Regions from separate parts of the Homo sapiens genome. Here region 2 is linked to region 1. The links are contacts of gene promoters, found by promoter capture Hi-C in blood cells and fetal thymus (Javierre and others, 2016). All regions are on one chromosome and are shown on one strand. The core of a region is centred on a gene start or on the middle of the fragment in contact, and the rest is flanking DNA. Distances in the headings are between cores, read along the strand shown. Region 1 holds the start of SCG5-AS1 (SCG5 antisense RNA 1). Region 2 overlaps FMN1 (formin 1).

Region 1 (3,216 bases), core at 509-3,008:
AGGTCTTATAAATAAGAGTGAATTTTGAGAAAGGATGTGTGAAAATGACTCTGTTCTTTTCTTTTATCTCACTTCAGTTACTTGGGATGGAGGAAGCAGAAACTGGGAGTCAGACATCTAAAATATGAAGTTCCACCCTCATGTTGGCCATTTCTTTCAGCCTCCTTTCCCCATTCCTAGGGGCCAATCTGTTTCTCCCTCTCCTGCTCTTTCTCTTTGCCTCTGTCTTCTTCTTTCCTGTGGAGACAATAGCGTGTGGTGGAACTGCCTGAGTGCTTACTGAGAAGGAGAAACCAAGCGCAGATTGTATAGAAGCTGACGAATGAGTCCTCTGATTGTGGACAAGTGATGGCGCTTTTTGTAAAATTGTGTATGTGTTTACCTCAAGTAGTGAAAAAAAAAAAAGAAAAAACAACTTTTGGGGCAAGTTGGACCTTAGGAAGGAGATTTCTGGGTCTCGGGGTTTCTCTTAGCCCCCAGTGCCTGGTGCCTGCGGCCGGTGTCGCCTCAGGGAGTCCCAGGCTGTTCTGTGGCCTCCAGAAGGAGCCACCCCGCCCCTTCCTCGCCCCACTCCGCTTTGCCTTCCCTTAGCCTGGGGAGCCTTGCCGCCTCTCCACCTTCTCTCCTGGTCTCCTCGGGCGCTCTCGCGCTGGCACCTTCAGCTCTGTCAGAGTCTGAGGGGAAACCAAAGGAGGCCAGGCGGTGTCTGGAATGCCCCATCCGACTGCTTCAGGCTCCCAGACCGCTGACAAAAGGAAAACTGGTCCGTCGCTTTCTGAATGATGTATCGAGACCGCAGTGTATTTTTAGCATCTGCTGTTTGTGGTAACATAAGTGAAAACTGCTGGACCCGTTCCCTTCAGCTGAATGGCTGGTATTCAGGGGCCTGTGCCCGCTCCCTGCCAGACGCTCCTCACAGAACTCCCTTTTTACGAGGTGGGCGACTGGCTCCCTGGCACCAGGCTGCCCCACCACAATTCTTTATTGCCCAGCGCCAGTGCCCAATTGCATGAATCCCCAGGGCTGCAGGCAGCGTGAGGGGTGCGAATGGGACGATGCTGGCTGCGGGCTTGTCAGGGTGTTCCCAAGTTGTGTGGCAGAGTCTGGAGGGCAGGGGTTGTCCGGATGTTCCAAACCTCCAGCGTGAGGTGGGCACTCAGGTGCGAAGGAACCATGGTGGCGAGGCCCACAGGTGGCGTCCCATCCCAGAGCCATTTTGCCGGGGCCTGGCTCTGCAGTAGTCACTGACACCGGAGATCCCCTGAGTGACCTGGAAACTATGAGAGACCCCAGGTACCCCGACAGGTCATTCTACTAACTGTGGCTGTGGAGCTCCAGCTCATCTTTGGAAGACGGAAACGCACTGGAAAGGGTATGAATGGACGCAGAAGGCCTCGTGGGGGCTCTCTCAGTGCCACTGTAGAGTGAACACAGGGCTGGAATCCAAAATAGCACCAACTTGCTGAGTGGCTTTAGGCAAGAAACCTTTCCCCAGGTCTCACTTTCTCACTTAGAATGATGAATAGTGATTCTTGTCCTACTGACCTCACTAGGACGTTTTTAATAAGGATGAAAGCACTTTGAAACTGTTGAAACCATAACATCACAAAAAAAAAAAAAAAAAAAAGAGACAGAGTGACGAAGTAACGCAGGTCCCATTTATGTTCTTAATTTCTGACCAACCTTAACTTCCATCAAAACTGCTTCCACTAGCCCCAGCCAGGAGAGCCGTTGCATCGTGGTGGGACATCATCAGGCTCTCCAACGGACATCGCTTATACTATGAGAACTCACGTTCAAGGGAGGTGTTTACCTCTAATTCCCACAGAACTAGCGTAAGTAAAAAATGGGGCAGCAGGATCCTTTCCTTGCAAAGTGTGAGCAAGTGCCTCTGTAGAGTAAAACTTTAAGTAAAAGGACTACAACGGCAGTGACAGCTCCTTTATCTGAAACTGCAGACTTTTAAGAAGGTTCTTAGCAGCCACACCGATGTCACAAATTCCATAAAGCAAGATCACCTAGGCACTCTCTCGGAGCTAATTTTATCTCATTTTATATATAATTTTAATAAGCCTGGCTCTCTCATTTTCTAGCCCCTTATTACTGAAAATGTGGCTCATGGACCAGCAGCATCTGCACTATCTGGGAGCTTGTGAGGAATGCAGAATCTCAGGCCCCACCCTTCACCTTGAATCAGAATCCACATTTGGATAAGATCCCCGTGTGTGTGTGTGTGTGTGTGTGTGTGTGTGTGTGTTGTGCGGGGGAGGGTAAAATTAGAAGAGACTTGCAGGGCCTAGGCGCACTCTCAATTTATTGTATTTCATTATGGAAAGGATTTGGGATGACTAGAATTAATAACTTAGAAGGAGTGAGGTGACAAAGAACATTAAAAACTATTGCATCTGGGACCATTTAATATAGGTTTGTTTGTTTGTTTGTTTTGAGACGGAGTCTCACTTTGCCGCCCAGGCTGGAGTGCAGTGGCATGATCTCGGTTCACTGCAACCTCTACTCCCCAAGTTCAAGTGATTCTCCTGCCTCAGCCTCCTGAGTAGTTGGGATTACAGGCGCCTGCCTGTAATTGTATTTTTAGTAGAAATGGGGTTTCACCATCTTGGCCAGGCTGGTCTTGAACTCCTAACCTTGTGATCCACCCGCCTCTGCCTCCCAAAGTGCTGGCATTATAGGTGTGAGCCACCGCACCCGGCCCATTTAATATAGTTTTATATCCGAATGCCCTTTAATACTCTGAGAATACACTGTTACAACACTGTATAGTCATTGATATTCCCAGTAATAGTCCCAAATTATCAAGAACAGGCAAAGTCATATTCTCCTGCTGTTTAAAGTATTTACCTAATGTTCATAGTGGAAAATTCTCCTTTAAAATGGTTAAATAAATCTTGATCTTAAACCGATGCTTCAGTGATCTGAATACTACATGAAACAGCACGTTCTCTCTAAAGAGATAAGTGAGATGGTACTATAATCGGAAACCTCTGTTAATTCGGATTTTGTTTTTTATGCACATTTTAGAGAGTCAAATTATATCAAGATAAAATATGATAACAGAGATTTACTCTAAAATTAAACAATGAAAAAAACCCTACCAGTGCAACAAAAAGGCCATGGCTGTTCAGAGCCAAGTAAAACTTTGGGGGTCAGAAGGTATTTAATTTTCATATTTCTGTTTACTAGGTACTAACAACTGAT
Region 2 (3,216 bases), core at 385-2,884, 270 kb after region 1:
TTCAGGTCTTGGATTTTCAGATTTGGAATGCTCAACTGGAAAATTTGAAATCTGAAACGTTTCTGGTCTCAACCATTTCAGATAAGGGATACTCGACCTGTATACCAAATATCCACATAGGGTACACGGTCAGCTATATAGAACAAGTGTGTAAATGATCTGGCCTTTCTTGGTAAGATTGAACAACAGCGTGGAGAATTCACATAAATTAGACAATCTGATTCTCCCAAGTACAATTCTAAAAAATACAACTTCTATTTTTGTGCCATCAAACTAGTGTTATCTCTTGCTTATGCTTCACATCAATACTCGCTGAATTCCACCACCTGGCCAAACTATGGACATTAAGAGGCTGGTTGGTAAAAAGTAGATATGCTACTGATGACAAGTCAGCTTGTCTTAGTAACAGTCATCCCACTTCTAAGTCATGGGCTTCCAAATAGATAAAGGTACCTTCATAATGACTGTTATGTTTCTCTTTAAGACATTCTTGTGGAGTGGGTTGGAAGACACGTAGAATCCTATGTTAGAGATGCAGAAATTGTTTCACTTATTCAAGGGCTACAGGCTCTGATGATTGCACTGATACTTTAGTTTGAATACCTCCAAATTATAAATTAGTATAGGGTCTAAACTTTAGCTGCATTAGAGAGCAGTATCTTTGTGAGATGAGAGAGAATATTAAGAAGGCCTTAGGTTTAATTTTTATTCTCATTTAACTGCCATCCAAATCAAAAAATCTTCTAAGTAATAGACATCTAATTGGGAAAACAGAGTGAGAGTTTCGCAATGGAAAGAAATTCCAAGAAGTGATGCAAAACGATGCAAGGCAATGAGGTATGGTAGCCTATGGATACAGGCCTTATGCACAGAAAAAAATCATGGGGGAACCAACTGGCAGAATCCTTTTATAGCTGTGGCTATTCTAGTCCCCTCCCTACGATTTCTAATATGGCAGTGACTACAAATGGGACAGGTAAGCAATGATTCCTCCCAGCCAGTGCCAGAAGGGAGTGCCTGGGGAAGGGGAAGGGCAGGACCACAGCCATCTTGCTTTCTCTCTTACGGGAGAATAACCGCTTCTTTGGAAATATGCAATTGTTACTTGGCAGGTGCCCAGGAGTACAATGCTGATTCAGTTTCCTTGGTCCCCTTCTTCTTCCCTGCTCCATCCCCTGCCACTCTGCCATCACACCCAGAAGAGCTGGTTGGCTGGCTGTGTAGTGCCATATTATGCAATGTCATCCGACGTGGTGCAAAACAGCTCTTGCTGCTAATGGCCAGTATGGCCTGGTAGGCCTCTGGGAAGAAGCCTCTGTCAACTGGCCTGATAATGACATTAAAATAAGCTTTCCACATACAGCTGATAATCTGTCTCATTAAATGTTTCAAGGAAAACTAAGCTTCACTGTTTAGTCAAACTGTTAGGTCTGAATCTCTTCCATGGCCTTATTTTTGGGGACACATAAAATTGCTTGGATGAAGTTTACTTTAAGGATCTAGGCTCTTCACCAAGAAATGTGAAAAGGCAAATTGTCACCCTGTCTTGAGTCTGAGAACGTATTTGGCACCCCATCCCCATCCTGACGAGACAGAAAAACCCTTTTCTTGTTTTTCAGGCTGATGAATTCCACTCAGAAGGCTAATGCGGAGGCCACAGCAGGTGAAGGCTATGACAGTGTGGGGGTGTGATGGGTTGGAGGGGGGAGGGTAGGGCTGTGGGCAGATTTCTGATTTTGTGTAATGTAGAAGACAAACCCCCAAACAAAATCACATGCTTTTTCCTATTGATCATGGAGTCTTGCGGGAAGAAAAGACCAAGAGACATCAGTGCATTCACTGCCTTCAGACAGAACCAGAGCTACCAAAGCTTGGCCCTGCGAACAGCTTTGATTTTAGACTTCTAGACTCTAGAATTATGAGACAATAAATTTTTGTTGTTTCAAGTCAACAGTTGGTGACAGTTTGTTAAATTAGCCCTAGGAAACTAATACAGGGGCTGATATTTTTATATTTCTAATAATCTTCTAGGTGATTATGTTGCTGCTGGTCCATGGACATTTTGAGGGGTGAAGTGACTCTAAATAAATGTATTATTTTGTTACTGATCATTGGCACTTAGCACGGTGCCAATACATAGATATATGTATGTTTCTATAATCCCTGATTTCCAGAGGTTTTTCCCATGAGCCCCTTTCAGAATATCAATCTCCACGGAGTCCTTTACTAAAGCTATTGTACTCATTTAGGAAGTATTGGAAGTAACTTTCTCATAGAAAGCCAATCCCAAGTATACAGACAGCCATAGTGCCCTCCTAAAACCTCTAAATAACAAAGTTTGCATGACCTTTGGACTTCCTGTCTTGTCTATATAATTTCTCATCTAATAATAAAAACTTCAACCCAGTCTCACACACGTATATCTTTGGTGGCTTAAATAGGGCTTTTTCTTTCCAACATGTTAGAGTGTTAGGCTTTTGGAAAGAACACATGCTAATAATTACGCCAAGCTGGTTAGAGATAATGGGCAACAGAAAAGTTATTATCTTCAATGTCATCATATGTCTTTGATATGATAATCATTGCATTCAAGATATCAGAAATGATGGATGGCCTTTGATTTAGAGGGTATCCACGATGCAAATTACCTGGCTCTTTCCCACTCCTGTGTAGAGGTGAAGAGCCAGCAAGAGTGAGCACCCCTAGCTGCAGTGCCTCAAGCCACTGGAAGGCAAAATCTGAGACAGAACTCCAAGGGAAACACTTCTTCCTTTAAAGATACTTAGGGCACCTCACATTTTCCTTTTGCAGACAACTTCTCGCATAGTCTTCATTTGCCGCCATTGCCATAATGTACACTACTTACAACCCAAGTCACTCCACTCTGTTAATTTTCTGGCTAACAGCTGCTGATATGTAAGTGCCATATTGCTTCCAACAGGTTCACTGAGTTCCTTCCATGAATATAAAATAAATATTCCACGAAATGTTGGTAAAAAGAGAAAGATGAAATATTACTGTATTTTAGTAGATATTTTAGAACTGCTGCAAGATTTTGTTAGGGTTTGCGGTGTTATGTCCCAGCACATTTCCCCCGTAATTAGTCTTATCCTCCTTCTTACTCTCATAGCACAGCTATCACGGGAAGCAAGTGCGTATCATACACTATCATTCAGGCTTTCAGGTGAATGGCATAACATAGTGACTGAAAAAACC

Evidence for each region. The method cuts DNA at HindIII sites, captures the fragments that hold promoters and counts their contacts. A CHiCAGO score of 5 or more calls a contact.
Region 2: a fragment that was not itself captured here is called in contact with the fragment with the promoter of SCG5-AS1 in region 1 in 7 of 17 cell types (M2 macrophages, endothelial precursors, M1 macrophages and 4 more); the score reaches 21.5 in M2 macrophages.

Annotation. Positions count from the first base shown.
Region 1 is chr15:32,671,307-32,674,522 of GRCh38, forward strand. SCG5-AS1 (SCG5 antisense RNA 1) reads right to left here and starts at 1,759. Exons shown (of 4, transcript NR_135505.1): 1 at 1,684-1,759. All of the region lies in intron 10 of ARHGAP11A-SCG5 (ARHGAP11A-SCG5 readthrough), which reads left to right. The region is part of intron 2 of SCG5 (secretogranin V); the gene reads left to right. The HindIII fragment of the contact is 5,358 bases long and covers 1-3,216 here.
Region 2 is chr15:32,943,089-32,946,304 of GRCh38, forward strand. All of the region lies in intron 9 of FMN1 (formin 1), which reads right to left. Among named protein-coding and RNA genes, the nearest start is that of GREM1-AS1, 230 kb to the left of the region's middle. The HindIII fragment of the contact is 467 bases long and covers 1,402-1,868 here.